Linked DNA regions of Homo sapiens: regions 1, 2 and 3 are each linked to region 4. The links are contacts of gene promoters, found by promoter capture Hi-C in blood cells and fetal thymus (Javierre and others, 2016). All regions are on one chromosome and are shown on one strand. The core of a region is centred on a gene start or on the middle of the fragment in contact, and the rest is flanking DNA. Distances in the headings are between cores, read along the strand shown.

What was found. The method cuts DNA at HindIII sites, captures the fragments that hold promoters and counts their contacts. A CHiCAGO score of 5 or more calls a contact.
Region 1: a contact is called between a fragment that was not itself captured here and the fragment with the promoter of RASGEF1B in region 4, in 17 of 17 cell types (erythroblasts, megakaryocytes, total CD4 T cells and 14 more). The highest score is 18.6, in erythroblasts.
Region 2: a contact is called between a fragment that was not itself captured here and the fragment with the promoter of RASGEF1B in region 4, in 1 of 17 cell types (erythroblasts). The highest score is 6.4, in erythroblasts.
Region 3: a contact is called between a fragment that was not itself captured here and the fragment with the promoter of RASGEF1B in region 4, in 1 of 17 cell types (erythroblasts). The highest score is 5.4, in erythroblasts.

What each region holds. Positions count from the first base shown.
Region 1 is chr4:82,201,634-82,206,956 of GRCh38, reverse strand. No RefSeq gene overlaps it. Among named protein-coding and RNA genes, the nearest start is that of HNRNPD, 170 kb to the left of the region's middle. The HindIII fragment of the contact is 5,880 bases long and covers 1-4,325 here.
Region 2 is chr4:82,047,321-82,052,663 of GRCh38, reverse strand. No RefSeq gene overlaps it. Among named protein-coding and RNA genes, the nearest start is that of HNRNPD, 320 kb to the left of the region's middle. The HindIII fragment of the contact is 2,331 bases long and covers 1,969-4,299 here.
Region 3 is chr4:82,118,627-82,124,415 of GRCh38, reverse strand. No RefSeq gene overlaps it. Among named protein-coding and RNA genes, the nearest start is that of HNRNPD, 250 kb to the left of the region's middle. The HindIII fragment of the contact is 888 bases long and covers 1,892-2,779 here.
Region 4 is chr4:81,468,107-81,473,221 of GRCh38, reverse strand. RASGEF1B (RasGEF domain family member 1B) reads left to right here and starts at 1,315. Exons shown (of 14, transcript NM_152545.3): 1 at 1,315-1,452. RefSeq lists a silencer at 974-1,383. The HindIII fragment of the contact is 14,883 bases long and covers 1-5,115 here.

The sequences.
Region 1 (5,323 bases), core at 136-2,635, 730 kb before region 4:
GTTGTCTCTTCACCTTGTTGATTGTTTCCTTTGCTGTGCAGAAGCCTTTTTACTTGATGTAATCCCATTTGTCCCTTTTTTGCTTTGGTTGCCTGTGCTTTTGAGGTATTACTAAAGAAATCTTTGCCCAGATCAATGTCCTGTAGAGTTTCCCCAATGTTTCCTTTTAGTAGCTTCATAGTTTAAAGTCTTAGATTTAAGTCTTTAATCCATTTAATTTGATTTTTGTATATGGCGAGAGTTTCATTCTCTTGCATGTGGACATCCAATTTTTCCAGTACCTTTTATTGAAGACTGTCCTTTTTCCAATGAATGTTCTTGGCATCTTTGTCAAAAGAGCTCACTGTAGATGCGTGGATTTATTTCTGTGCTTTCTGTTCTATTGGTCTATTTGTCTGTTTTTATGCCACTACCATACTGTTTTGGCTACTATAGCTTTGTAGTATCATTTGATGTCAGATAATGCTATTCCTCCAGTTTTATTGTTTTTGCTCAAGATAGCTTTGGCTATTCTGGGTCTTTAGTGGTTATTATGAATTTTAGGATTATCTTTTCTATTTCTGTGAACAATGTCATTTGTATTTTGATAGGGATTGACTGAATCTACAGATTGCTTTGGGTAGTATGGACAATTGAACACTATTGATTATTCTAATACATGAACATGAAATATCTTTCCATTTTTCGGTGTCCTCTTCAGTTTCTTGCATTAATGTTTTATAGTTTTCATTGTAGAAATGTTCCACTTCTTTGGTTAATTGCTAGATATTTTATTTCATTTGTAGCTATTATGAATGGGATTACTTTCTTGATTTCTTTTTTCAGATTTTTCACTGTTGGCATAAAGAAATGCTACTGATTTTTGTATGTTGATTTTGTATCCTGCAAATTTACTGAATTTATTTATCAATTCTAATACTTTTTTGTGAAGTCTTTAAGTTTTTTCCAAATATAAGATCATATCATCTACAAGTAAGGATAATGTCACTTCTTCCTTTCCAATTTGGATCCCCTTTATTTCTTTCTCTTGTCTGATTGCTCTAACTAGGACTTCCAGTACTATGTTGAATAACAATGGTGAGAGTGGGCATCCTTGTCTTGTTCCAGATCTCAGAGGAAAGGCTTTCAGTTTTTGCCTGTTTAGTATGATACTAGCTGTGGGTCTGTCATATATGGCTTTTATTGTGTTAAGATATGTTCCGTCACTGCCCATTTTTTTAGAGTGTTTATCATGAATGGATATTGAATTTTACTGAATGTTTTTTCAGCATCAATTGAAATGATATTATTATTTGATAATGATAATTTAAATGATCATATTCTGTTTATATGACATATCATGTTAATTGATTTGCATATCTTGGACCATCTTTGCATTTCTGGGATGAATCCCACTTGGCCATGATAATGATCTTTTAAATATGTTGTTGTATTTGGTTAGCTAGAATTTTCTTGAGAAATTTTTATCTATGTTCATCAGAGATAGTGGCCTGATGTTTTCTTTTTTCTTGTGTCTTTGTCTGATTTTGGTATCACAGTAATACTGGCCTTGTAGAATGGGTTTGGAAATAGTCCCTCCTCTTCACTTTTTTTTTTTTTTTGGTATAGTTTGAGTAGGATTGGTGTTAGTTCTTCTTTAAATGTTTAGTAAAATTCAGTAGTTAAGCCATTGAGTCCTGAGATTTTCTTTGCTAGGAGACTTTTTATTATGGCTTCAATCTCATTACTTGTCACTGGCCTATTCAGATTTTGGATTTCTTCATGGTTCAATCAGTAGGTTGTATGTGCCCAGAAATTTATCCATTTCTTTTAGGTTTTCCAGTTTATTGGCATATAGTTGTTCATAATAGCCTCCAATGATTCTTTGAATTTCTGTGCTATCAGTTGTAATGTCTTCTCTTTTATTTCTGATTTTATTTATTTGGGTCTTCTCTCTTATTTAAGTTAGTTTTGCTAAAGGTTTTTCAATTTCACTTATCTTTTCAAAACACCAACTTTGCATTTTATTGGTCTTTTGTATTATTCTTTTGCTATCAATTTCATTTATTTCTTCTCCGATCTTTATTATTTCTTTTTTTCTATAAATTTTAGGTTTGATTTGCTCTTTCTTTTCTAGTTCTTTAAGATGTATTATTAGGTTATTTATTTGAAGTTTTTCTACTTTTTGGATGTAGGGACTTATTTGCTATAAACTTTCCTCTTAGTACTGCCTTTGCTATACCTGATAGATTTTAATATGTTGTGTTCTCATTTTCATTTGTTTCAAGAAATTTTTCAATTTTCTTCTTAATTTCTTCATTGATCCACTGGTCATTCAGGAGCATACTGTTTAATTGTCATGTTTTCATATAGTTTCCGAAGTTTCTCTTGTAATTGATTTCTAGTTTTATTCCATGGTGAGCAGAGAATATACTTCATTTTATTTCAATTTTCTTTTCTTTTTTGTAAATACCAGGCAAAGATCAGGTGAAAGATTTCAATTTTTGTGAGTTTTTAACGACTTGTTTTTTTGCCTAATATATGGCACGTCCTTGAGAATGATGCATGTGCTAAGAAGAAAGTGCATTCTGTAGCTGTTGGATGAAATGTTCTGTAAATATATCTATTAGGTGCATTTAGTCTATAGTGCAGATTAAGTTTGATATTTCTTTGTTTATTTTCTGTCTGGATGATCTGTCCAATACTGAAAGTGGGTTGTTGAGATCTTCAGCTATTATTGTATTGGGGCCTATCTCTCTCTTTAGCACTAATAATATTTTCTTTATATATCTGGGTGCTCCATTGTTGGGTGCATATATATTTACAATTGGTATATCCTCTTGCTGAATTGACCCCTCTATCATTATATGATAACCTTCTTTGTCTTAAGATCTACACTATCTAATATAAGTATCGCTACTCCTGCTCTTTTTTGGTTTCCGTTTGCATGGGATATGTTTTTTCCACCCCTTTATTTTCAGTCTGTGTCTTTATAGGTGAAGTGAGTCTCTTGTAAACAACATATAGTTGAGGTCTTATTTTTCTATCCATTCAGCCACTCTATGTCTTTTGATTGGAGAGTTTAGTTCATTTACGTTCAATGTCATTATTGATAGTTAAGGACTTACTACTGCCATTGTTATTTGTTTTCTGTTTGTTCTGTGGCCTTCCTTTCTTCCTGTCTTCCTTTGTGTAAAAGTGATTTTCTCTGGTAGTATGTTTTAATTTCTTATTTTTAATCTATCTGCTGTAGGTCTTTGATTTTAGGTGACCATGAGGCTTGCTTGCAAAAAACATTTTATAACCCATTATTTTAAACTGATGACAACTTAACTCTGATGACCAAAACAAAAAACAAACAAAAAAAAACCCCAAAAAACCACACTCCACTAATAAACAAGCAAAAAGAAAACAAATAAAAACTCTGCACTTTAACACCATCCCTCCAAAACTTTTTAACTTTTCACTGTTTCTATCTTTCAATACTATCTACCTGTTAAAAAGTTGTTATAGTTATTATTTTTGATTGGTTTGTCTTACTCAAGATATGAGTGGTTTAACACTACAATTATAATGTTACAGTAGTCTGTTTTTTTTGTGTACTTACTGTTACTCATGAGTTTTATACCTTCAGATGATTTCTTATTGCTCATTATTGTCCTTTTTTTTCAGGTTGAAGAATACTCTTTAGCATTTTTTGTAGGACATGTCTGGTGTCAATGAAATCTATCATCTTTTGTCTGGGAAAGTATTTTTTTTTCTCCTTCATGTTTGAAGGATTTTTGCTAGATATAATATTCTAGGATAAAAGTTTTCTTTTTTCTTTCAGCAATTTGAATATGTCATACCATTCTTTCCTGGCCTACAAGATTCCCATTGAGAAGTCTGCTGCCAGATGTATTGGATCGCCTTTATATGTTATTGATTTCTTTTCTTTTGCTGTTTTTAAGGTTCTTTCTTTATCCTTGACCTTTGGGAGTTTTGTTTATTAAATGCTTTGAAGTAGTTTTATTTGGGTTAAATCTGCTTAATGTTCTATGACCTTGTACCTGAATACTGATGTTGCTCTAAATTAGGAAAGTTCTATGTTATTATTTCTTTCAATAAACTTTCTACCCCAATCTCTCTTTCTACCTCTTCTTTAAGGTTAATAACTCATAGATTTACCCTTTTGTGGCTATTTTCTAAATCTTGTAAGCATATTTTATTCCTTTTTTTAATCTTTTTTATCCTCTGACTGTATATTTTCAAATAGCCTGTCTTCAAATTCATTAATTCTTTCTTTTGCTTGATCAATTATGCTGTTGAGAGACTCTGAAGTATTTTCCAGTTTGTCAATTGAAGCTTTCAGCCAGAATTTCTGCTTGATTTTTTAAAGTTATTTAAATATCCTTGTTAAATTTTTCTGATGGGATTCTCTGAATTCTTCTCTGTGTTTTCTTGAGATTTGTTGAACTTCCTCAAAACAGCTATTTTGAATTCTCTCTCTGTAAAGTCAAATATCTCTGTCACTGGGGGATTAGTCAGTGGTGACTTAGTTCATTTGGTGAGGTCATGTTTTCTTGCTTGTTGTTGATGCTTGCGGATGTTCATCCATGCATGTTTGGGCATTGAAGAATTAGGTATTTATTCTAATCCCTCAGTCTGGGCTTTTTTGTACCCATCCTTTGTGAGAAGGCTTTCCAGGTATTCAAAGGGAATTAAATGTTATGATCTAAGTCTTTGGTCACTGCAGTCATATCTGCACTAGAGGGCGCCCCATGTCCAGTAATGCTATTATTCTTGTAGACTTCTACTGCCTTGGTGGGCTTGGGTAAGATGGGGAGAATTCCCTTATGAGGCAGTTTCTCATTCTTTTTCTTCACTTTCTTCAAAACAGGAGTCTCTCTCTCTCTCTCTGTGCTGGGCTGCCTGGAGTTGGGGGAGGGGTGACGCAGACACTTCTAAGGCCAGTACAGCCAGGACTATCCTGGGTCACATCTGAAGCCAGTACTGAGTCTTGCTCAAGGCCCATGGTAACTACTGCCCAGCTACCACTGGTATTTATTCAAGCCCCCAGGGGTCTTTAGTTAGCAGGTGGTGAATCCTTCCAGGACTGGGTCCTTCTCTTTGGGCAGCAGCTTCCCTTCTGGCCCAGGAAGGATCTAGAAATGATGTCCAGGAGCTAGGGCCTGGAATTGGGCCATTTCAGAAATCTGCTTGGTGGTGCTGGTGCTGGTGGTGGTTCTTCTTTCTTCTTCTTCTTTTTCTTTTTTAACTGTGTCTAAGCTGGTTCCCAGGTTGCAAGATGAAGTCGTCTTTACTCTTCCCTCTCCTCTCCTCAAGTGGAAGAAGTCTCTCCCCC
Region 2 (5,343 bases), core at 1,885-4,384, 580 kb before region 4:
CAGCAAAATTGGCATGGTTTTGCATTAGACAGTGCATAATTAAAACTGCTTCCTCTTTAAACTCATTCCATATTTCCCTCTCACCCTATGGTGAGGCTGAGAGAGCCTGATCCCTTGCTGCTCTTCTAGTCTAAGGATGATGGGATGCCAGGTGAGGATGTGGGTATGGAGGACTGCCTGGATGCCTATTCAGGCTCCATGTCTTCCTAGCTCTGTGACCCTGGGAAGGTAATCAGCATGTCATGCTGTATTTTCCTCAGTTGTAAAGTAGGGATTATGAAGGTATCACCCAAAGGAGTTGATGACATGATCAATTGTAATAATTGCATAATAGTATATGTAGAGGGCTTAGCACAGTGCCTCCCACGTAGTAGCATGCTGGCTATTGTTACTGTTATTATAATGCTACAGAAATGAAGCATGGGGAAAAATGGACCTGTTGATTCCAGATCATGACTTGTTCTGTTTGGCTCTGGAAGATGACTGAAACACACCTCTGCCCATGGAGAATTGAGAGGTGCTGAAGAACGAGAAAACAGAAATAGTATAAAAGAAAAAGCTTTGGTTTAAATATCTGGCTGCTATAGAACTCCTGGAGGTATGTGGTTGGGTGGGAACTGTCTCTCCTTTTCAGGCTGGTGCAGGATTATCCTTGCTCACTCCCCAACACCCTCAGGTGTTTAGATTTGGTCTGACTCCAGTCATTTCTGACCTATATTTGTTGTGAGACTGATAGAGCCCTCTATCAATGGTGACAAAGGGGTGACCTTGTCTAGAATTCTTTAATCTCACCGAGTATCAAACACAGAGCAGATCTGGACCTCTGCAGATAGGGAGAACTGAGACTGAGCCAAAGTTTAGGGGATGGGGTGGATCTGATCTGGCCAGAGCCAAGAGCCTGTGCATTTACTTGTCCCAGTTTCCTCTCATGTGGACTGTTAGGATGGTGGGCCAGTCCAAGAAGGGGTGGAAGCAATGAAATGCAAATAAAATTGGTATTTGCCTCACGTCCCTTCTGGGTGATTTTTTTGATCTTTAGGTTTCCCATAGAGGACCCAGGCTAGCTCACTGTTCAGCACTATACCTGCTGCGGCTCTGCTTTACAGAAGCTGGCTCCCTCTCTCTGCTCCATTGCCTGTGACCTTTATGCTCTTTGATCTCTGCAGCCACCATTGCTCACTTGGAAGTGCAGAGTCCTGGCTCTGATGCTTCCTTACCTGCTATCTAGCTATGATCCTACTCACTGCTGCCTGTTGGTGCATTTGGCTCCAAGGGCTCCAGATTGATGCTTTACTTCCTGCCCAAGTGAACATTGGCTCTCCACTCTTGAGCTGTGGTTCCTAAGGGGGTGGCATAGCCTTGATGCCACTGTGGGTTTTGTTGTTGTCACATAGTACCAGTCTCCTCATTGTCACTAGTGTTGGCCCAGGCACTCCCACCATCACTGTGGTGAACCAGGCCCTTTGCCACAGCACAATGACTCTTACATCAAGTCCCAAACTGACGAGACGGGTGCCTTATTCTCTTAGTCTATTATCACATCAGTAATATTGTAAGTTTTCAGTGTTCTTCAGTTTCTTTGGGCTCATTTTCTCCAGGCTGTGCCTCTCCTGTGAGTCATAATACAAGTTTCCTCCAGGGCTGGATTAGGAGGGAACTGGCATCACACTGAATGACTTAACTCCTTAAACAGCCTAACCTCCTTTGGTGCTGACCATTAGCTGATTAGACTGACCTGCATCTTGGATCTTTTCCATATTAGAGAATGTCTCCTTCCCATCCAGGACAGCCAGAGCAGGGGTGGAAAGGTTAGGTCTATCTGTTTGCTCATTAAAGAAGCTCTGGTCATCAGTTTCAAGATATACTGCAAAGATTCTCCCAGGGAGTCCTATTATAGTGTTTCAACTAAGGAAACTTAGGTGGCTTACTGTGCCAGGACCTCAAATTGTTATATAAAAGGAGTAAGCTTGGCTGTGATGTGGGAGTGGTACCCTGAATCCATGATGCTGAGTTCTTTTCCCTTCCTTCATTGGTCTTTCCCTTCCTTCTTTTCTCTTTTTTTTTCACCTTGTTCAGAGAAAAGTTCATTTTTCAGTCAAAGTCTCAGTCCAGCATGGTGCTGGGGCAATGACTCAATGGAAAGAGCATGTGCTATCTATCAGGAGATTTAGAATCTGGCCCCAGCTCGACCAATATAGTAGCTGTGTAAACTTGGTCAAAAAACTTAACTTCTCTGTGCCTCTGATTCTTCAACTGTAAACTGGGATATGAGACAGAGAGAGAGAGAGAGAGAGTGAGAATGAATGAATGTGTATGTAGTGGGCATTTGATGAAATGATCTTAAAAACACTCTCTTTTTAATGGATATTGGCTTCTAGCAACTAGTGATAGAAAAGGCCTGGTATACATAGGCTTTGCCACCCACATTCTTAGGCAGAATGGGGGCCCAGACAGACACCACATGCTTGCTTACTGTACCAAGAAAGAAATGAAGCAAACATTAAATTTAAATCAATAGCATTACTTGAACACAGAAGACAAAACTGTTTTCCCCCAAATTGTTTTGATTGCTGTCAGTAGCTGCTATTAGGTATGAAATCCATTCAGATCATCAAAAACCAGAGCAACATACAATGCATGAAAAGCTGTTGTAATTGGCACCATTGTAACTCTATACGGTGTGTGATCTTAGCTGGGAGGAGGGAGAATTGTAGGATAACTTGTAATCTAATTTTCTTTGTTGTAAAATAGAATGTTACCATTGTATTTCTGTGGAATAATAATTATAACATCTCACACAAATAGAGTGCCTTTCTCAGGAGGTGCTTAAAGAGCTCAACAGACATTCATTCAACCTTGTAAACATAGTAAAACCTGGCTTGCTTGCATTTCTCTCAACTGAAAATTCCTATTAACCAACATCTTTCCTCATCCATCCTACTGGGATACATGATTTTTATAGTGGTGAACCTGACACCCTGAGAGACACTGAGGTGCCTTCTGAATCATCTACCTTTGGTAGACCTTCAATGTTAATTGCAATTTATGACAGCCTAATTTTTTGGAAAGTGGTAATTCATATGTTGCAGAGATGATAATTAGTCAGAATAGTTGGTTAATCAGACTGCTCTATTTCCTGACCATACTGAAGTACTGAGTTTACAATAACTAACATGGGATCTCCCTCTAAGACCCACAAAGGAAGCCGGGTAAATGAAAGCAGTGTTCTTTATTACTTGGCAGGCATAAATTACCCAGAATTAATCATTCTGGGCAAATGACAATTTCCAAAGGTTGATTCTTCAACTTCTACATTCTCTTGTAAACTAAATGAGATGAGAAAATAAGTATGTTTTAAACATAGATTTCACTTGCCTCTTAAGACTTTCCCATTTCTAGTTATTAAGGCTATTGTTGATAACTATTGGCTCTTAGCAGCAATGGTGAGTGTCTTTAAAATCAAATTTTGGATGATGTTTTGTAGAACCTTTTCACAAGCACCAGAGATTTCTTCAAGAGAGTGTCAGTGCAGTAGATTTAGTTGTGTTAATTGGTCCATCCTAAATGTTTTATTAAAGTGATAAGATCTTAAATCAATTAAGATTAACATGATGACTAAAAAAAGTCTAAGTTCTTAATTATGGAATTGTAAAAAGTATTTAAATTGGTATTACACTCACGTTTACTGCAGAGAATCTAGAAAATTAAGGAATATATAAAGAAGAAAATAAAAATAATCCATAATTTCATCACTTACAGAGAACTATTATTGCCTTTTGGTGTATTTCCTTCCATTTTGGTCCTAATGTATGCGTACCATGTAAGTATTTTATAAATTTAGAATATGCTACATATACTGTATGCTGCCCCCTACTAACATTACCTACAGGCATTTTCTAGGTCATTAATTATTCTTTTAAAACATACTAGGTTTTGATTATATGTACCATGGTATATTAAGCCACTCTCCTGTTGTTTTTATGGTTTACAAATTTTAGCTTTATCATGCTGTAACAAGTATCCCTGTTCATTTGTTTGTCCATCTGTTTGTCCATGTATTTAAACAATTTTTATTGAGTATTGTGTGCCAGGCTTTGGGCCATGAGCTGAGGATATATCATTAATCATCACCCTAGTCAGAGTTAACGTATTACTATTATGTAGTATGGACCAGGTCCTCTATTAGTATTCATATAATAATTATATGAATCATTCTAATAAGTGAGTATAATAATATTACCTAATTAAGTTCTTATGAGGTATTATTATCCTTGTTTTCCAGATGAGGAAATGGAAGCTTAGAGAATTGAAGTGACTTGCCCAAGATCACTCAACTGGCAATTGGCAGAGCCAGAATTCAAGCCCAGGCAGCCTGAGTTCAGTCCTAGCCTTTGAACCATGGTGGTTACTGTGTCAGTAGAAAAGACACTCACTTGCCCTTACAGACAAGACACAATTGTAAATGCAAAAATGTTTGAGCGATTCTCTGATTATTTTCTTAGGATAAATTCTACAAATGGAAATACTGGGTAAAAAAGTATGAACAACGCTTCCAGTAAATGATACTGCAGTCACAGTCCTAAGTGGGGAAAGACCATAGATGATAAGATTATTTTTTGGTTTGCTTTCCTTTCTTTTCTTTTTTGTCCTGGGTCTCTGTCCTTGCTCTACCAATGACAGGAAGAAATAGACATGGTAGTGATTCAGGCCTGGGCATGCCCTGGAGAAAGTCTGGGCAATGCTCTTGCTGTTCAGTGGGTTGCTGCTTTCAGACATGTTTATTTCCTCTACAAGATGCAAGACATCACAGAGGAGAGGGCATGGGGAGAAAGAAACCATCAAAGGAATGAGTCTAGATTGCAAGTAATGTATAGCCTCTTAAGATGACTGTCACCACAAGAAAATGCATCTGCTCAGTAAAAATCACCAGGTTCAGTTAAATATATATATTTCATACATACATATTTAATAGCTGCTCCTTGCAGAGCAGGGCTAACTCCTAGGCAGCGTGCCCAGAGTCAGCCTAAAGACTTAAAAAAATTCAATTAGTATTTAGTACAGTTTCCCTTGTGCCTAAACCATAGATTATTCATATACGGCAAGTGACTACCTGTAAATATTCCCCATGCTCCTCATTATTGCACACCCCTTCTCAAGTCCCTCTTTCTCAAATGAACATTATCCGTCCTTTGCCCTATCTCCTAGTGCTCAGCACAGACTTGATTGATGGCTGTTCTAGGTTTGATTCCTGGCTCTGCCATTAACCCTCTGTGTGGTCTTGGATTCTCAGTTTCTCCCCTTTAAAATAATAGAGTTGTAGTGTCAATCAAATGAAATGCCATG
Region 3 (5,789 bases), core at 1,086-3,585, 650 kb before region 4:
AATAGCACAATAATTAATAGTCAAAATGCTACTAGCTCATGTTTGCATAGCTTTTTAGAAATTACAATTCTTTACAGTATATGGTCTTATTAAATCAATGCAAAATCGCTATGGCAGCATCCATCAGAATCACCTGGAAGTTGTTAAAACACACATTGCTGCTTGCTTGTCCCTACCTCCTCCCAACTTGAGTTTTTGATTCAGTAGGTCTGAAGTGGGGCCCCAAGTCAGTCTTCCTGACAGTTTCCCACACGACTCTGCTGCTGCTGGCTGGGGCCACACTTTGAGAACCACTGCCCTCTAGGGTATGTGTGGCTTCTTGTATTATTACTGTCACTATTTTACAGAGGAAAAATGAAGTTTCAGAGAAGTTGAATTACTTAACCAAGGTCACCCAGGTGGCAGATTTCAGACTTCAGTTTAAGTCTTCGAAGAATAAGCCATATGTTTTTTCAACTATGTGCTATTGTCTCAGATTTTTTTCCTAAAAAATTAGAGTTTAACACGTTAGATTTTCTTCAAAGTACTTGGAATTAAAACATTGTCATTGTAGTTTATTAGAACATTTACGTATGTGGCATATATTCTTCTTTGACAATACTGGATGGGGTTCTTGGTATGTGTAGCTTCTGGAGCACTTAGAACATTCAAATAAATGCTAAGAAATTAGGGTGACTGGGTGGAGAAGGAACACATGGAGGAAGTAGGATTTGAAGTGACTGGGGCAGGTGCAAATCCTTTGGAAAAGAGCCATAAAGTAGCGGAAAGACATGACAGTTAGCAGATCAGAGGGAAACTGGTATTTTAGGAGCATTTTCCTGCATGGATAATTTAGCCAACCCAGAATGCTTGTATTGACTTTGATTTGATGTTGGTCTTCTCTAGAGGGAGTCTGTAAGGGTTTTTTCCAGCTAAACAACCATTTTGCTTCCAGGTTAAGAATGCCTAAGAAAATATCCTATTATGTTCATGGAAATATCCTATTATGTTCAAGAAAATATCCCTTATGTTCATGTTTATGTGTCGATTTTTCTTTTCTGTGAGTTTTTTCCCAAGTCCTTTCTAAATCAATTACAGAGTTATGAAGAAGCCTTTTAAGCACCTCTAAAGGCATTTTAAAGAAAATTCCGAGATCACTTATGTCCTTTCATTTCAAGACTGTGATAGCTGCCATTAATGCAGAAATGTGACATTAGTCTTTCAGGTTGTAACCAGGCTGGATCAGGTGGGGTTCAGTCAGGATAACAAAACCCCTGTAGGCATTTTAAATATGGAGAGATTTAATAAAGGTATTGAGGTGCTTACAAAACCATGGGAAAGACTGGAAGAGTGAAAATCAAGGAGACTGACATTAGTTTCGGGTTTACTGCCACAGAAAAGCAGAGAGCTGTTGCAGCTAAGAATCAAGAACCTGCAGGAATGTGGCCAGTGGCCTCACAGCTTTCTTCAGTGCTGAGGGGCTGAAATGGGAAGGAAACAAAGACGCCACTGCATAAACATACCTGTGAAACTCACGTATTTGTCTGCCAGTGCTTCCAGAACAAGAAAAAAGAATGTCTTCTTCGTCTCTTCCACCTTACTAGTCTTGCAGGAGTGCAATTTTATTGATGAAATCTAAGAACTTTCGAGTTTACAGGATCCATTTGAAGTAAAATTTATGTCACTACACAGATGTGGCTTTTTCTTCAAATTACCAACTAGGGGTGGACACACGGAATTTTGCTGGAAGTGGAGGTCTTCACATCTCATTACCAAACCTCTGAGCTATGAAGTTTCACTGCATTTGCAGTTTCTGTATTTGGTTTTGCTTGACAGGTATTCATGACTTATTGATTGTATTTTTATTTGTAATAAAACCTTAATTCTTAGGAATCATGCTAAAGCAGAAGCTTCCATTAATTAGATTCCCTCTCTCATAGGCCTTCTTTGGAAAGAAGTTTTATCACTGGAAAATGGAAAGTTTTAATTTTTACTGCAAAAATTCAACAATATATCCAATTACCCAATTAATATAAGCCTGCTATGGTTGAAATGTGTCCCCCGAAGTTCATGTGTTGGGAACAGTCCCCAATGCAACAGTGTTGAGAAGTGGGACCTTTAATAAGTGCTTAGGTCCTGAGGGCTCTGCCCTCATGAATGAATTAATGTCATTATTGCAGGAGTGGGTTAATTATTGTGAGAGAGGCTTTATTATAAAGGCAAGTTTGGCCCCCTCTCACTCTCTGGCTCTTGAGCCTGCTCTCTTGCTCTCTATCTGCTGCCCTCGGATGATGCAGCAAGAAGGCCCTCACCAGATGCAGGCCTCTCGACCTTGGACTTCTCAGCCTCCAGAAATGTAAGAAATAAATTTCTTTTCTTTGCAAATTACTCAGTCTTTGGCATTCTGTTATAGCAACACAAAATGGACTAAGACAATGTCCATTATACAAAAGTGGGAAAAAAGATAATATTTTATATATTTATATAACTAATATATATTTGTTTAATCTGTGCTCCTTTATTGGAATTCTAATTGGTTGCAGTTTTTATTTTTCACTTTAAGTACCAATGATTATGTAAACGGTCTGATACATGCATCCTACGATAAGCAATATCCTTGGATAAATTCCTAGTAGATTTTTAGCATCTAAAATGATGTACTTTTAGAGGATTTTAAAATATGTATTTATAAATTGACTGCCAGGAAGATTAGGATACTTTTAATCTCCCACTATCTGTGAATAAAAGTTCCCGATTTTCTGAACTCTTACCAATATTGGGTCTTATATTTAAAAAAGCTTTGCTAATCTGATAGTTAAAACGTATTTAATTGTTTTAACTTGATTTTCTTTGATAACTAGAGAGGATGAAGATTTTTTTTAAATGCTATTATCTTTTCACATGTATTCTCCTAATGAAATTATACCTTTAGCCTATTTTTCTATTGGGTTGTTAGACTTCTTTGAAAAATGATTTGTAGTAGCTCTTTATTAATTAACGATAAAATCACTTATCCCTTATTTATGTTGGAAATATTTTTCTCAAACTGCTGTTTGCCTTTTAATTTCATTTTATATTTCTGAAAGAATTTAAATTTTTTAGTTAATCAAAAATTCCTTCCTCCTTCTCGCCTGCCTGCCTGCCTGCCTTCCTTCCTTCGCCCTTTCCTTTCTCTTTCCTTCCATCCATCCATCTTTCTATCTGTATTTCTATCTTTCTCTCCCCTCCCTCCCTCTCACCCCCTCTTTCTTTTTCTTCTCGGTCTTTCTCTCTCTCAAGAAAAGGCAAGATACTGGTTAAGTGGGCTCATATATTTTAGAAAGGCCCAAACAGAATTGCCAAGAATTGCATAAGAACGTTCAGTTTCATAAAACCTGTAGTTCTGTAAGAAGGTTCTACCTAGATAATGACAAAATTAGGGATGATTATGTCATTAGGGATGATATAGGCAAATACAAACTCAGCAACCAAAGTCTACAATACGCCATGTGTGAAATGTTTAAAAATTACTGAACAAATGCCATAAAAGAATTGCTTCTTGTCTTTTGGAAGTTAAAAATAAACTAGATGTAGGTTTCTCACTTATGAAAGTAATATGTAATTTTGGTAAAAAATTAAGAAGGCCACCAGTGGCCTTCTCACACTGTAAGAACTCTACCAAATAGTTTCTTTTGTATCCTTTTAGAAAGTTTCTACATATGCACAAAAATAGAGAATATCCCTTAAAACACCTCCTCTATAGATACATGAGATAATACCGAATGTAATATTCTGCAGTTAATTATTTTGTTAATTAATGTTGAATTTTAGACCTCTTTTTACATCGCTACATAAAAATCTACTAGTCTTTACTGTATACAGTAGTATGCTCTATGAATATATCATAGTTTATTTTACTAGATGTTTCTAGATGCTCATTTGATTGGTTCCAGATTTTAAACTTTTATTATTATTATTTTTTAAAGAGATGGGGTCTTGCTATGTTGGCCAGGTTGGTCTTGAATTCCTGACCTCAAGTGATCCTCCCATCTTGGCCTCCCAAAGTGCTAGGATTACAGTCATCATCCACCACGCCTGGCCCTAGTTCTGTATTTTTGTTCTAAGAAAAACTGCTGCAATGTGATTATTATACAGTTAACTCTATTTTTTTTTTTTTTTTGGGATGAGGTGTCACTCTGTCACCCAGGTTGGAGCGTAGTGACATGATCTCGACTCACTGCAACCCCTGCCTCCTAGGCTCAAGAGATCCTCTCACCTCGGCCTTTGAGTAGCTGAGACCACAAGCACATGCCACCACACCCTGCTAATTTTTGTATTTATTGGTAGGTATGGGGTTTCACCATGTTGCCCAGGCTGGTCTCAAATTCCTGAGCTCAGGCAATACACCTGTCTTGGCCTCCCAAACTGCTGGGATTATAGGTGTGAGCCACTGTGCCCAGCCTATTGTAAAGTTAACTCTTGAACAACACAGGTTTGAACTCTGTGCGTCTGCTTATAAGTAGATTGTCTTCCACTTCTGCGACCCGTGAGACAGTAAGACCAACCCCTCCTCGCCTTCCTCAGCCTACTCAACATGAAGATGATGAGGATGAAGACCATTATGATGATGCACTTCCATTTAATAAACAGTAAATATATTTTCTTTTTTCATGATTTTCTTTCTGTTTTTTTTTTTTTTTTTTTTTTTTTTTTTTTTTTTTCGGAAGGGGAGTTTCACTCTTTTTGTCCAGGCTGGAGTGCAATGGTGTGATCTCAGCTCACTGCAACCTCTGCCTCCCGGATTCTAGCGATTCTTTTGTCTCAGCCTCCCGAGTAGCTGGGATTACAGGTATGTGCCACCACGCCCAGCTAATTTTGTATTTTTAGTAGAGATGAGGTTTCACCATGTTGGTCAGGCTGGTCTCGAACTCCTGACCTCAGATGATCCGCCCACCTTGGCATCCCAAAGTGTTGGGATTACAGGCGTGAGCCACTGTGCCCTGCCGATTTTCTTAATAACATTTTCTTTTATCTAGCTTAATTTATTGTAAAAACATAGTGTATAATACATGTGAAATATAAAATATGTTTTAATCAATTGTTAATGGTTTCAGTAAGGCTCTGGTCAACAGTAGGTTTTTTGGCAAGCCAAAAGTTATATATGAATTTTTGCATGGGAGAGTCAGCACCCCTAACCACTGCATTGTTCAATGGTCAATTGTATTTATATTTATTGTATATTCGTCAAGAAATTTGTGGATAAAATCTCTGAAGTAAATTCTTGCAATAGAAAGTATGTGCATGTAAAACTTTGGAAGAGCTCTCAAAATATGGTGCCAATTCATTTCCTTACTGACAGTGTATACAAATATAGAGGAAAGCTTAACATGTATATTTCAATTAAAAATTGTTCACAAAATAGATCAGATTTGCCTAGTTTCAAACCAGAGTGCTACACCAGGCTCCTAGAAGCAGAAGTCAATGAGAGACTAATGCAGAAATTATTGAAAAATCAGAATTATTTCAGAAAATAGGCTAAGTAGACATTAAGTCCCTCGGTTTTCCATTTTTGAGTCATAGCTCTTGCATAATTTTCCTTGGGAGATTGTTTCTAATATTTCTCTTTTTAATAATTTCAGCTTTTATTTTAGATTCAGGGGGTACATATGCAGGTTTGTTACCTGGGTATATATTGCACGATGCTGAGGTTTGGGGTACACTTGATCCCGTCACCCAGGCACTGAGCATAGTACCCAATAGTTAGTCTTTCAATCCTCGCCTCCCTTCCCTTCCTCTCTGCTCTAGTAGTCCCCAGTGTTTATTGTTGCCAT
Region 4 (5,115 bases), core at 66-2,565:
CCCAGCCTCTGTGTTTCACTCTGCATGGCTGGCCCACCAAGTTCCCTTGGCCTTATGGCTTCTCATTTAAACTGCAGAGAAGCTATGGTTAAGTCAAAGGCTCAAGTAGGTTAGAGTGAATTACTGAATCAGAGGAGTCCTATTTACACAAAGGAGGGAAGGAGTATCATAAAGAGGAAGAAAAGTAAAAGGAGGCATAAATGAAGAAAATGAAAGAGGAATCCGCTAAGAATAGACAAAGTGAGCGTCAAAATGACTCCACCCCAGGAAGGAGAGGGGGAGGGACCCATGGAGCAGGAGGGAAAAGGATTCCTCCCCCTCAGTAATCTTAATTATAACAGTATAGGACAGGTATGAATAGTGTTGTTTTATATATGAGAAAACTGAAGCTCAGAAAAGCTGTATCACTTACTCAAGGAAATACAGTTGGTAAGAGTCTCCTAATTCTGTAAATTTTTTCTTTTCATAGGTCTCTTTCTTCCCTTGTTTCCATCATTATTTCCCTCTGGCCTCCTTTTATGTGTACAAAGTGAAGTACGGAGGTTTTTACCTTTTTTCTGAAATAGTTATCAAATATCCCATGATGGAGTGAGTACGTGGTTACCATGACAACACAGCCCTCACTGAGGACTAGCCTCCCTGCTTTGCCTCCGGAATCATGTTTCACGGAACAGGTTCCTCTCCGTGCAACTTCTAGCAGCTGTAATTCTACATTTTGTTTGGGTGATTATTTGCTGAATGTCTGTCCTCCACTAGACTATGTAAGTTTCACAATGGCAGAGACCAGCCTACTTTGCCAAGTGTGCCCCCAGCGTTTTGCACAGTGCTTAGCACCAGGATCTATGTGTTATTTGCTAAGCAAATGTTCTGTGGTTCCTCTCCGCTCTCTTCTGAAAGTTACATGGACAGTAACCTTTAGCTCACAATTATGTTAATAAATACTGTGTAACGAGTCGGGCCGGTATTTACAGATAGTATACACGTGAATGAACACACACACACTCACGACTGCACAACAGCCCGGGGCAGGTGCACTCAAGAGGAAACGCGCACAGTCGGAGCCAGCCTGACCAACGCTGTTAAACACCGCTGCGCTGGGCTCCGCGGGCCTCTGCCGCGTGGGAGGGCACCCAGGCTGACGCGCTGCGGGAGTCTGGGGCCCACTGGGACTTGCCTGCCGGGCCGGGTGGCGGCGGCGTGGGCGGTGAGCTGCGCGGTGATTGGCCCGCGCCTGCCGGGGCGGGGCGGGGCTGGCAGCGGGAGGCAGGCGCCTGAGCCAAGGGGGGCGTGCGCGGCGGCGGCTGCCGTAGTTTCAGTATAAACAAGGAACCCGACTGGTTAGACAGATTTTGTTTTTCTTCTTCCCGCGCGCTTTAGCTCCCTGTCCTTTGGTCGCATTTGTGGGCGCGCGGCACGCAGCCGGGAGGCCGAGGACTCGGAGTTCACCTGCAGGTAGGTTGTTCCCTGGCTGGGTTGTTCTCCCGGCTGGGGGACCACAGCCCGGAGCGGGAACTCCGGACCCTACTGCGCGCTGCGCTCTCCCTGGAGATCCCTGGGCCGCGCGGGGAGCGAGCGGGGCTCAGAGACTTCACCGGCTGCCGGGTGCGCTCCGAGGCGGCGGGAGATCCCGAGGCGAGTGAGCGCGAACGCGGGCGCCAAGAGCCGAGTTACAGCCCGGGACCGGGGGAGGGCCCCTGCCCGGCCGCTGCGGGTACCTGGGACTGCCGCGGCCCCAACAGGTGCGAGGCCGAGCCGCTGGGACCCGGGCAGGGCCAGGCTTGGGTTGGGTTGGGTTGTGCCTTCCCTCTTTCTCCCTGATCCTGCAGCCAGGCCTTCTGTCTCGAGATAGGTGGTTTTTGAGGATTTGTCTTGAGTTGTAATCGCGTCCATCATTTTTTTCATCCCTTCTTTCCTTCGTGTGCATACCTAGGTTGATTCTTCCACTTCTTGACCAGTTTTGTGTGCGTGTGTGTGTAGGGGGAGCTGTTTATTTTTGTTGTCAGTGCCATGTAATCTAAAGTCTGACTCGTAGGAAGGGACAAGGGAACAGAAGTCACATACTCGCCACCGACAAGGTGATGTGCTGTCATCCTTCGGTGTTCACCTGGCAAACTTGGGAGACACTGAGTCGCCTTGCTTTTGCCAGAGCTCAGTTGAGTCGCCTCGGGTCACCTGCCTGGGGAATCTCAGATGAGCTAGAGGTATCTAGGAGCCTCGCGGGCAGTCAGCTTAAGGGAGGTTCTTTCTAAGGGAGCTGTGAAAACAACTTAAGTGCTGCACCAGGGAAAAGGGCGAGACGGGGGCTGGGGTGCGCGCGCCTTTGTGTGTGTGTATGGACGTACCATTTCAATACTGCTTGCTGTCTTGCCCCAACCAAATCGGCGCAGTTCAGGCAAAAGCAACGTAGCTTAATCCTCTGACACTGCCGAGGGTGGCACAAGTGTGGCAGATAACACAAGGAGATTGTCTAGACGGCGATTTTCTCTTCGGAATGTAGATGTGTCCATCCTCCCTGATGAATTCGGTGGATATGGTGTATATAGATGAATATGCACACAAATTTGTGTATGTGTTTGGGCCGAACGCGTCTCCAAGGAGTCCTTCGTCAGCACCATGTGACGACGGTCAGGAACTGCTGGTGTGTGTAGATCTATATTTAGCTCAGATGGTCTAATGGCCGAAGGGAGGGTCTCTGAACTGGGTGCATAAAGGGGAAGAGTCTAGGGATCAGGGTGGTGCACTCTTGAATGATGTCTGGCACAGTCACACTCAGATGGGGTGAATAATTGCCCTTTCCTCGTGAAAACAGTAGCTAGAGCTTGGCATGTGATGGCTATGCCTTAATTTAAAACATAGTTGGACCATGGCGATAAGCCTCTGCTAAGAAACAAGGAGGTTTACAGTTAAGCAGCGTATATACCTGGTTGGCCGTTTGGGTGAAAATAACTGGTCCCATGAGATTTAGAACAAATATAGAGTTGCTTTCTTTAATAAAAAGAAATAAAAATTATTTGCTGTTGAGGTTTTCATAACAGAAAAAAAGAAGGCAGCTTGTTAAACCCTATCATTAAAGGTAATTTTATTTTTTTAAGTGAGGGGCAGTGGTGGAGCTAGAGAGGAGGACCTTAGGGCACTTTTGACAGATATCAGGGTTTACAAACAGCGTTATATTATGCCTCTCAAGCAGATTTTCTGGTGAAGATGAGATCAGCCACTGATTAACAAGTTTCTTGTTGGCATTCTTCCACTGCATGTCGGGTCAATCCTTTGTTTTCTTGGAGGTGGGCAACATTTCTAACTACTAAGCATATTGGCCTTGTACTTTCCAGTTGTCTAACGAAGTGTTACATTCTTAGAATTTATTTCTCCTATGGTGCATTTTCAGTCTTGCTTCATTTTATGTGCTCCACTGGATATTTTATCTGATACTAACACATCTAATACCTGGGAATCATACTGTCTTTTGGAGAAGAGAATCACCAGAAAGCATTCCCATGTATTGTCTCCCGCTAACCCCCTACAGCTTAGCATCTAATAGATTATTTATATGTGTGTGTGTGTGTGTGTATATATACACATATATGTACATATATACATATGTATTTATATGTATAACTAAATCAAAGTATTATAATAACACATAGTTCTTATATAACATTTTATTCTTAGAACCTAAAATTAACTACTAGTTAATAGAGTACAATAGACTATATAAAAACAATTCAATACACCTTTCTAAGGAAAAAGACATGGTAAGAAAATTGAAGGGGAGGAGCTGGGATCCCTAGTATGACTCAGGAGTGTTGGGATCAGCTTTGTCAATATCCGCAGAGTACCTGGAAGAATTGGACTTGGGAGGAACATTGGGATAGCCCCAGGAGAGCACCTCCTTGGAAAGGAGATGGGTGAATGGAATGTCTTTTTCTTTGCTTGGGAGAAGAATCTAGAATCCTTGAAGCAGGGATTGGGAAACTTGATTCTGATGCCACACATAATAAATGAAAAAGCTGTGAAAACATTTTGTGACTTCTTAAAGAGGCCAATTGCACTGTTAAAAATGCTGTTTAAGATTTATGGGATTTTTATTAGTAGTAGTTGAATTCAGGTATTGCCAGCCCACCCCCCTCACTTTTTCAGACCTATAGTTGTCCTTTTTGATTCTCCAGTTAAAACTACAAAAAAGATCCATGCAACCTTTGCTTATCCTAAAGTGACAGATGTTATAGCCTAGTGCTGTGGCATATTTCTGCCTTGGAAATAAGGAGACTTGGGTTCTGGTTGATCTGGAGCCCTAATCAGTGATTTATTTTTTCTCTATGCCTGCAGTGTCTATAAAACGACTGTGGGGAGTTGAACAGAATGATTTATGAGTTTCTTTAGGTCTGTCATAACTGCTTTATTTTGTTGTACTATCGCTTCATGCATTTACACCCTGTCTTAGAGGTGGACTAATGAAGGGACAAGTGATTTGCAGTTAGGTGTTCACCTACTTTCTGGGTACATGGAAATGAAGAGAGGAGAGTGAAATTTCTTTTTTATTTATGAATTCATGTAGAAATTTAATATTAAACTGCTTTTTGCTTTGTTTTTCTTTAGGTATGAATATTAAAAATGATTATCAAAAAGATTGGTGTCAGATTATTTTTTGGCCTATTAAATCAATATTACTATCCACTAAATTTTTAAATTTGTCTTCAACAATCATTTTTTCTTAGGTTTATATTTATTATTTCATTTCAGGATATGCCTATGTCTGGAAATCATTCAGTTGATTCAAACTTTATTAGGAAACCCTGCTTAGAAAATTAGTTTAACCCAGAGAAAGTACAAATTAGCCTGGACTACCAATATCTTTCTATTGATCTAAAAGAGAAAAATGGGAAGGGATGAATATAGTTTTTCAAAAACTCACAGCTGGAAAATTATCCCAGTAACCATGTTATATACTAAAATATAAATAGAAAACTCTACTTTTTAATAAACATCCTCATTAGGTATCAGATCATTTTCCTGAGATGAATTAGGTGTAGAAAAATAAAACCTTTCATTAAAGAATGTTCTCCACATGCTATTATCTAATTTGGGTTGAGATCTACCTTGTATAAATGATGATTC